Linked DNA regions of Homo sapiens: all the other regions are linked to region 2. The links are contacts of gene promoters, found by promoter capture Hi-C in human tissues and cell types (Jung and others, 2019). All regions are on one chromosome and are shown on one strand. The core of a region is centred on a gene start or on the middle of the fragment in contact, and the rest is flanking DNA. Distances in the headings are between cores, read along the strand shown.

The links. The method cuts DNA at HindIII sites, captures the fragments that hold promoters and counts their contacts. A contact is called where the count stands out against the background at its distance.
Region 1: a fragment that was not itself captured here is called in contact with the fragment with the promoter of KCNK1 in region 2 in 2 of the 25 tissues and cell types used here (dorsolateral prefrontal cortex and liver).
Region 3: a contact is called between a fragment that was not itself captured here and the fragment with the promoter of KCNK1 in region 2, in 2 of the 25 tissues and cell types used here (heart left ventricle and liver).

What each region holds. Positions count from the first base shown.
Region 1 is chr1:233,544,205-233,547,541 of GRCh38, reverse strand. No RefSeq gene overlaps it. Among named protein-coding and RNA genes, the nearest start is that of KCNK1, 68 kb to the left of the region's middle. The HindIII fragment of the contact is 6,746 bases long and covers 1-3,337 here.
Region 2 is chr1:233,612,494-233,615,419 of GRCh38, reverse strand. KCNK1 (potassium two pore domain channel subfamily K member 1) reads right to left here and starts at 1,314. Exons shown (of 3, transcript NM_002245.4): 1 at 894-1,314. The coding sequence starts at 1,248. RefSeq lists enhancers at 288-347, 1,536-2,188 and silencers at 818-877, 1,218-1,287, 1,648-1,747. The HindIII fragment of the contact is 20,351 bases long and covers 1-2,926 here.
Region 3 is chr1:233,692,907-233,696,137 of GRCh38, reverse strand. No RefSeq gene overlaps it. Among named protein-coding and RNA genes, the nearest start is that of MIR4427, 70 kb to the right of the region's middle. The HindIII fragment of the contact is 4,410 bases long and covers 1-3,231 here.

The DNA.
Region 1 (3,337 bases), core at 614-3,113, 68 kb after region 2:
ATCATGTTCAGAAGACTATGCCATAATGAAAGCAGTAGAGATGGCTGAGACACAGTTCATATCCACTAGGATATCAAGCATCATTCCAGGGGAAGATGAGATTACTCACAACAGTGCAGGGAGAAGGTGTCTGGAATGGTTCTTGAAGAGATTGGTGCTTGCATTGAAATTTGAAGGATGGATAAAGCTGAAAGAGTCGTTCTAGACAGAAGAAGCAGATTGAACCAAAACTAAGAAGTGAGAAGGGCTGATGGATGAAACAATTCAAGCCATCTTGTTAATGAATCATCATCACCTTTTGAGATCTTCAGCGAAATTGCTGTAATAAGACAGATCAACAAGAAAAAAACAAACAAGTTATTAATATGTATATCTCATATATACATGGGAGAGAGAGAATCAGTGGTTCTCAAACAGGTGGCTTAGAACTCTGGCTTATATAACATCTTCACAAAGAACAATAAATTTTTGAAGAAATTAGAGGACAAAAGAAAGGGATCTTGAAACTTTAGAGGCAGCAAATTGTGGGAAGGCAAATATGGTGGATAAAGGCTGGTTAGTAAAGTTTGTTATGTAAATTCCTCTGGTACTGATTTTCAGGCTAAGAACCTAAGTCATCTCCATTGAGAAACCTTTGTCCTTCTTGGTAGAGGGGAAAGGAGGATGCCTTTACAAATTTAGGTCCTGCTTTTTTAGGTAAATAAGAGCAGAGCAGAGAGTTTTTCTTGTATCTACTTCTCAATTGCCTTCAGCTCAAAATAATCCTTATGCCAAAGTGGCATATTCTGCTTTCAAGTGCTATCATATTGTTTTGATTTAAAAAAAAAAAAACACCTTAAACAACCATACACAAAATATAACAAAAACTTCAACTGGGGTGAGTGACGGCCCATACTGGTCAAATAACTAAATGCAGTCAACATGATATATAAAATTACAAAGTAATATGCAAATGTAAAACATTTTCATTATCTTTAATCTGTTCTCACATATGCCTACTCCTGACATCTTTTTTTTTTTGAGATGGAGTCTTGCTCTGTCACCCAGGCTGGAGTGCAGTGGCGTGATCTTGGCTCACTGCAAACTCCCCTTCTCGGGTTAAGCAATTCTCTGCCTCAGCCTCCCAAGTAGCTTGGATTACAGGCGCCCGCCATCATACGTGGCTGATTTTTGTATTTTTTTATAGAGACAGGGTTTCACGATCTTGGCCACGCCAGTCTTAAACTCCCGACCTCGTGATCCACCCGCCTGACATCTTTTAGAGAGAAGATTTCTACACTGGACTGGCTCTGAAAGAGACTATATACAAGAAATATCGACACTGCCTACTTCCGGTTTTAGGTTTCTGGAATTCCTCCTCACTTATAAAGCTTTTGCCCTTTTAGACATCTGCGATTTCTGCCCACTTTTACAGGGATGGTGTATGTAAGAGTTAGCAAGATGTTCCCTATTCAAGTTCCAAAGGTAAAGGCTCTTTTGCCCCAGGACAGAAGCGAGAGAATCCGAAGAGCATCCTGGGGGTACTGACTAGAAAACAGCTAGTTTAGCCAGTGGAATGGGATAGGGAAGAAGAGAATAGAAATACTATTAGACTTGTTCTTGTAGAAGCAAAATCCTCACTGTTCTACATAACATAGGAATTATGTATTTTTCTAGCCTATAATTCTCAAACATAAATCTGATGTGTTACTTTCACTAAGAACCAGCTTATTTCCTGGTGATCGTCAGCTATATTTACATACACATGAGCAGAATTAGAAAAATATAAAATAATTTGAGACTCAAGTAAGAATAAGATAGCCCATTTTCTCTTATTTGTTCTATAGACAATATATACTATTGTCATTTTCTTTTTATTGCCTTAAATTCAGCTATAACAGGCCAATAGATCAATAAATGTCATTTTCTTATTTGACTAAAATCACAAAGTGAATACAAATTTCAGCCTTCCAGGCACAGAAATATACTAAATATCAAAGCATTAGGCACCCCATAGTATTACAGCAAGATACGATAGTATTACATTCCATTACAAGAAATGATGCTCATTTTTATTCCTTTTCTTATGAACAATTTCCTTTAGAATTTTTTTTTACTTTAAAATTTTAATCTAAGTGAGAATTACTATAAATGAAGCAATGAGATTAACAGCAAAAACCAACCTTACCATGTTCATCTGTCTTAGACACAACTGAAAGGGGCATTAAAGATTGTTGGTCCAGAGCCGGGTGCGGTGGCTCACGCTGGTAATCCCAGCACTTTGGGAGGCAGAGGCGGGCAGATTATCTGAGCTCAGGAGTTCGAGACAAGCCTGGCCAACATGGTGAAACCCCATCTCTACTAAAAATACAAAAATTATCCAGGTGTGGCCATCCATGCCTGTAATTCCAGCTACTCGGGAGGCTGAGGCAGGAGAATCACGTGAATCCAGGAGGCAGAGGTTGCAGTGAGCCAAGGTTACGCCACTGCACTCTAGTCTGGATGACAGAGCAAGAGTTGGTCTAAAAAAAAAACAAAAACAAGATTTTTGGTCCAACCAAAATCAGAAGATGGGAAGCATCATCTGTCAGAGTATCTGATATCCAAAGACAAGGGTATGGCACAAGGTCACACAGGATATTTTTTAGCGGAGCCCTAACTAGAGGTGGGCAAGTGTGAGCTGAGTGTGAGAGGATAGGCAGCCAGAGAGACACAGGTTCGGACAAGTATTTTCAGTGTGTTGCCGATGAAGGGGATGAATGGTAAGGGAGAGGCAGGGAAGATGTGTTATTATTTTTCATCTAAGGGAGGAGTGGTCAACTTAATGGCTGAGAAGAGAAGATGACACAGGGAGGAACCGAAGACTCCAAGCAGCGGCACAGGGAGAAGGAACCAGGAAAACTTGGAGGATGTGAATCAGGAGCAGAGGGAAGGAGTTTTCAACAAAAGTCAGACAGAAGTACCTCTTCCTTAGAACAAAGAGACAAGTACCTTGCTGAGCAGCCTAGAACAAAAGTGAAACCTGAGGGCACACGAAGTCGATACTAAAAATAAAAAATCAGCAGCCAGGTCCAAGGCTGTGGTCCAAAATCAGAGTCACAAGGTATCAGGAGGAGGCTGGGAGCTGCTAGGTGATGCCAAGAGCCCAAGGTGCTCGAAGTCACAGTTTGCATAAGGGCATAAATTAGGGAAAGCCAAAGGCATCAAGGAGTTAGGGACTGGGAAGATAGAAACTCGAACACTGCAAAAGATGAAAGAAGGGTCTAACCAATATGCCAAATAGTGTGTTCCTTGCATGGGACTAGAGTTTTTTGGGGGAGGACCACATTTATGGAGCACTTGTTATATGCCAGAACAA
Region 2 (2,926 bases), core at 65-2,564:
TCTGATCTGGCACAGTGACCGAGCCCTGGGGCATGCGCCCGGCCTCATCTTTCACCTGAGGAGGCTCCTCCATGGCCGGGCGCCCCGCGGGTGAGTCGTACGGGGACGTGGCGCTTCGAAGTTTATGGGGAGCCTCGCACACCTCAAGTTGAAGGAACTGCTGAATCAGGGTGCCCCAATTAAGTCAGATCTTAGGCAATCCTATGGTTCCTTTACTCTCCCTCACCCTTCCTCCTACTCTGAAAAGAAACCGGATCGGCCTGTCCGCCCAGAGGTCACCTGGGAAGAGCAGAGTGATGTCACTCGGCTACCCCCAAAACTGCCTCCAAGGTACAAAAGAGCTGGAATATCTGTGCATGGTCCAAAGGGACGGCACACTCCGGAAGGTGACCCTTTAGAAGGTATTATTACCAGACTGCAGCCTCGGCCTCTGGGATGGGTGCGGGAGGAAGGTGGTGAGTTTCCATCATCCCGCTGCCTTGCCGCACGGCGGCCAGGTGCTGCTACACATTCAAACCCGACAGTTTGGCTTAGTGGGTTGCGAAAAAAGAACTCAAGGGGAGGAAGCACCTGCAGCCACCCAGGCCGAAGTTAGGGACCACTTCCCCAGAGTTACGGACGGCAACAACCAAGTCACGTCTGGAGTCACCTCTCTGGCTTCCGGCTCCGCAGGGCTTGCCCTCCCGAGTCACCCAGGCAGAGGCCGGGGACGCCAGTAAGGGGAAGGTCGGAGGGTCGGGAGGACAGTGAGGGGAGGCGGGCTGGAGGAGCCGGGATGGCGAAAGGTGGGGGGTGGGGTGGGAGGGTTAGAGGGGCCCGGGGCGCCGGGGCCGGGGTGTGTGGGTTGTGGGCGAGGTGGCCGGGGCGGCCAGGGGGCGCGCAGGATACCCTACCTGTGGTGGAGAGCACGGTGCTGGCGAAGAAGAGCGCGGAGGTGAAGTCCCAGTTCCAGTTGCCCGAGGCGTTGCTGAGCACCGACACGCCGTAGTTGCTGGCCTCCAGCACCCGGCCCAGGAACTGCTCCAGCTGCTGCTCAGACAGGCACTCGTGCTCCTCCAAGAAGCGTCGCTTCAGCTTGCGCAGCTCCTGGCGCAGCAGGTCCTCATAGGGCAGCTCCACCGAGGAGAAGACCACTGCGCCGAAGACCAGGTAGAGCAAGTAGCCCAGCACCAGGAAGCCGAAGCACCAGGCCGAGCGGTGCCGCTCCACCAGGCGCACGCACGAGCTGCCGGCCAGGGACTGCAGCATCTTCTCCACCGCCGCCGCCAAGGCCAACGCCGCAGACCGGCCGGAGCGCGGCCCGCCGCCTCTTCTGGCCCCGCCGCCCCCGCCCCCGCCCGGGCCTGGCTCCCGCCCGCCGCCCGCTCCCCCGCGCGCCCGCCCGCCCCGCTCCTCCGGGCAGCGCCGTCTTCCTGCGATTGGCTCTCTCGGGCGATGTTTTTCTTCCTTCTTTTCCTGTTTCCTTGCAATATAAAAAGCCCAGATGATGTGGCGCTGACGTGGTTGCCGGCTCAGGTAACCCGAGAGTCAGCGGAGACCGCGCGCAAACTTGGCCAGAGCGCCTGGGCTGGGCTGCCGGGGCCCGGGACGCACCGCCTTCTGCGCACTCCAGAGGTGGGGCGGGCGCTCGGTGGCGCCCAGACCCCGACCCGACAGCCACCAGCTCCTCCCGCTCCCTCCCTTCCTGGGTCCAGTAGCCAAACTCTAGCTGACCGCGCGCGGCGTGTGCGTGTGTGTGTGTGTGTGTTCGCGCGCGTGTAGTGTGGGCCGCTTCTGGTCAATGCGCTGGCCGTCCAAGCCCCCTGTCCAAGCTACTCTTGTTTCCCACTTATTTTCTCCCAATCAAAGCCAGTATTACAAAACAGCAAGCGCTGAAGTACTTTCCTTCTTTGTCTTATTGGTCGAAGGATTGAGCAATCTGGTGCCAGTAATGACGGTGAAAATACCAGAACATCAGAGTTGGAAGGCTCCTTGAATCAGTCTCCTCTCTCCCACCCATCCCCCTCACAAAAAGGACTTGAGGGAAAAGGAGAGTCTCAGAGAAGTCCTATTTCTGAGTTCGAATTTTCTAAAACATGACCTTAGGTTTTTTGGTGAAAAAACATCCCAAATGTGTCAACTGCCAGAAGAAACTGAGCTTTCCCAACTGTCACTTCTTTTTAAAGTGACAAAAATGTGGGCGAGGGTCAGCGAGCCGCCTGCTTGTGGATGAAAATAAAAATTGGTACACCCTTTCTGGAAAGGCAATTTAGCGACACGTCTCAAGAACCTTGAAAGGGTTTATTTGTTCTGATTCAGTGATATGTCCTAAGAAAAAACAATCAGAGAGGCACTTACTTACAAAGACTGGTCATAGACGGTATCTATATATACATACATGTAGTTGTATAATATAGTGCATACACATGTGGGACACACACACACACACACACACACACACGGTATAGATGAAATAATGAAGACTCAGAACAATCTAAATATTCCAAAATAGAGAATGGTTAAATAAGTTATGGCATCTCTACAGCATGGACACCATATAGACATTAAACACATTAAAGTTGTGTCTAAAGACTATTGAAGCAAAACTGTGTAGAATCTCAAATATGTAAAATATTTGTATTTTGTTACAAAATAAAATGACATCTGCATTATTAATCAACTGCATAGGAATAAAACTATCTCCTTGCAGTTGTCTTTGGGTAATAGTAGAGTATATAGATGACTTTCCTTTCTTGTACCTTTTAATATTTTTCAAATTTTCTACAGTGGATATATATTATTTTTGTAATCAGGAAAAACATTTAAAATACACAAAACTGAATTGTACAATTAATCATTCCAACACCTAGCTGAACATTTGCCTACTTTACTGAAGTTCTCTAAACAAGTCATATTTTGTATTTTCATAGAAACTTGTGCAAATGTC
Region 3 (3,231 bases), core at 219-2,718, 81 kb before region 2:
CTTTGTTTCTAATCTTAGGAGGAAAGCTTTCAGTCTTTCATCATTAGGTATACTGTTAGTTGTAGGCTTATTATAGATGCTCTTTATCAGGTTGAGGCAGTTTCCTCCTTGGTTAAGACTTTCTATTTTTCATTTTCAGTTATGACCAGGCATGTTCATAACTGCTCATCAAAACTTTGAATTAGTGGCTGCTTTAACATCCTTCTCAGACAATTCTAACATCTGTTTTGTTGGTGGTGGCATCTATCAATTGTCTTTTTCATTCTGTTTGAGATCTTCCTTGCGTTTGGTATGATTTTTTTAAATATTATGTCATGAAACTGCATCTTATTTAAATCTTCTGTTTTAGTTGGCTATGTCTGACATCACTTCCCCAGGGGAAGGTGTTGTTACTGCTAGTGGAGGGTGAGAATTATGGCTCTCCACTGACATTGTGGTGGGATTGGTCCCATTACCACTGGGCAGGGTTGAAAGTCCTGACTTTCTGCTAGGCCTTCTCTGACTTCATCGCAGCAGGAGGAAAAGATGCCTCTGGAGTTGAAGTCAGGTTGCACTGACACTGTGTGTGTATGGAGGTAGGCTGGGGTGAAAGTGGAGACTCATTACCACATGGTGAGTAGTTTCCAGCTCTCTATTTGGCCTTCTCTGATACCACCCAGACAGGGACATTGGGGATACCTCATTACAGCCTAGTGAGGGTCAAACTCTAGGCTCCCCACTCAGTCTTTGCTATCATGGACACTGTAGGACCATAGTTTTTTCTGTGCTGTTTGCTTGATGTGTCTTCCTTGGACCCTGAGTTCCATAGCTGGTCTGCATTCCTCTCTCCACCTTTAAGACGTCTTCTTATGTTTATTTCATATTTAACATCCAGGGTGGTAATTAGAGGGAAGAATAGAGGGAAAAGTACAGTTGCACTTTGTTGTTCAAAGAGCAGTTTTGAACTGCACAGACCCATTTCTCTGAGCACACCCAGGGATGATTGTACTTGTATAAAATTTTTTTCCTGGATGCAGAATTCTCAATTGACTGTGAAAGTTCATAACAAAGAAAACAGTGGGGAAGACAAATCTGGAAATGAGGAAAATAAAAATTAAATAGTGAGACCACCCATGGAGCTTGTGGCAAAGCCTGAATTGAATCCGCTGTATCTTAAGATTGTGCCTCATTCTAAATTTAAGTCACCCTTCTCATTATGAAAGTGTCACAACTTCTCAGTAGGTGAGGAGACAGTCTAAATTTGAGAAAAGAAAGTTACAACAAAGGTTTTGAGCAAGCTGCTAAGTGGATTTATTCATGTTTGAGAAATCAAATATATGGTTAATGAGCTCTTTAACTAGAAGCCAACACTAGGGAGGAGTAGACAGAAGTCACGGGGAGGGAGCCCCCGGACATTTCAAAAGACTTTGCCCTGCAACATCTCCTCCACATTTAAGCTTTTAGGTTATTGTAGCCACATCACAAGCATGTTACCTACCCAGATATTGTCTGCGCATCATTCCCAAAAGCTTCCCTGGGTCTTCATAATATTAATGAGATTCTCCCCCAGGTTAGACCCCTTTGGCTTGAGTCAGAAACAGAATTAATCCGGGGGACAATCCAGCAGCACCCATCTCTGGGTTGCAGAAATATCTGAGGTGACCAGGCAGTGTTTGGAGTCCCCTCAGTTAGCTAACAAAGTGAGTTCACAGCTTCCAAGACCCCAGGCTTTCCAGGCTAATAAAGAGCTGAGGTTATAGGCTCTCCTTATCAAACGCTCTTTGGCAGCTGCCATAACCATTCCAAGTCTAGTCCTAGAATAGAAATGACGCGGTTTCAGGAGCTGACAGATGGAACTTTAAGCCTTCCTTCCTGCCACATCTGAAGTTCTTTTTTAAAAAAATAGAAAACCATGACAATAAACACTCCTTGAATGCCCTGTGGAAAAGTGTACTCCTCAGAATTCACTAAAGTGGGGTGAAGCAGTGGGTTGTGGTGCTGAGAAAACATCTCTTCCCCTCGGCAGTATATTGGAATCTCATAGAAACTTCTGTGGCTGGGAAGCAAACATGCTCTCTGCCCCATTGCTCTTATTCATCTTTAGACCTGATAATACAGTTTGAACTTCAAGTTGCACTTTAAATGGCATGCATTTTTAGCCAGGCACAGTGGCTCATGCCTGTAATCCCAGCACTTTGGGAGGCCGAGGCAGGCAGATCACTAGGTCAGGAGATCGAGACCATCTTGGCCAACATGGTAAAACCCCGTCTCTACTAAAATACAAAAAATTAGCTGGGCTTGGTGGCACATGCCTGTAATCCCAGCTACTTGGGAGGCTGAGGCAGGGGAATTGCTTGAACTCGGGAGGCAGAGGTTGCAGTGAGCTGAGATCACGCCACTGCACTCCAGCCTGGTGACAAAGCAAGACTCCGTCTCAAAAAAAAAAAAATTAATTAATAAAGGGCATGCATTTTTTAATTTTACCTAAGGAAAGCATCCATTTAAAGAGGCTGAGAGACCTAGTGTAGGAGCACTCAAATGATGTTTTAATTGTATTTTATTGCAATGTATATTGTTGTAAAGAAGTATGAAAGGTAACGAGGTGAGAGAGCTGCTCAGAGAAATAAAATAATGCCTCACTTGAAGAGAACAAAAGGAGACAGCTTTTTCATGCAGTTGGTTGGAAGTAGCTGAATGGAGGATCTAAAAAGTCAGATTCTGTTTCTTCAGCCTGGAGATGGCCACATGGTCAAGGATGCCGAAGGAAAGCAGCTCTCAAGAAAAACGTTGCTTACTCTAAACACGTCGGAACAAGCCAGTATCACACAAGCATTTATCTCTATGGATAAAACTAAATACATATTATGTTTTTTGGAACATTTTTGCCTTTACCCCTGAGATAATGACAATGACTTAGCTCATGGAAAGGTTGTGGGCATTAATTAATTAATTTTGAGGCAGAGTCTCACACTGTCACCCAGGCTGGAGTGCAGTGGCAAGATCTCGGCTCACTGTAACCTCTGCCTCCCGGGTTCCAGCGATTCTTCTACCTCAGCCTCCTGAGTAGCTGGGATTACAGGCATGTGCCACTATGCCCAGCTAATTTTTGTATTTTTAGTAGAGACAGGGTTTCACCGTGTTGGCCAGGCTGATCTCAAACTCCTGACCTCAGGTGATCCGCCTGTCTCGGCCTCCCAAAGTGCTAGGATTACAGGAGTGAACCACCGCGCCCAGCCTGTGGGCATTAATTTA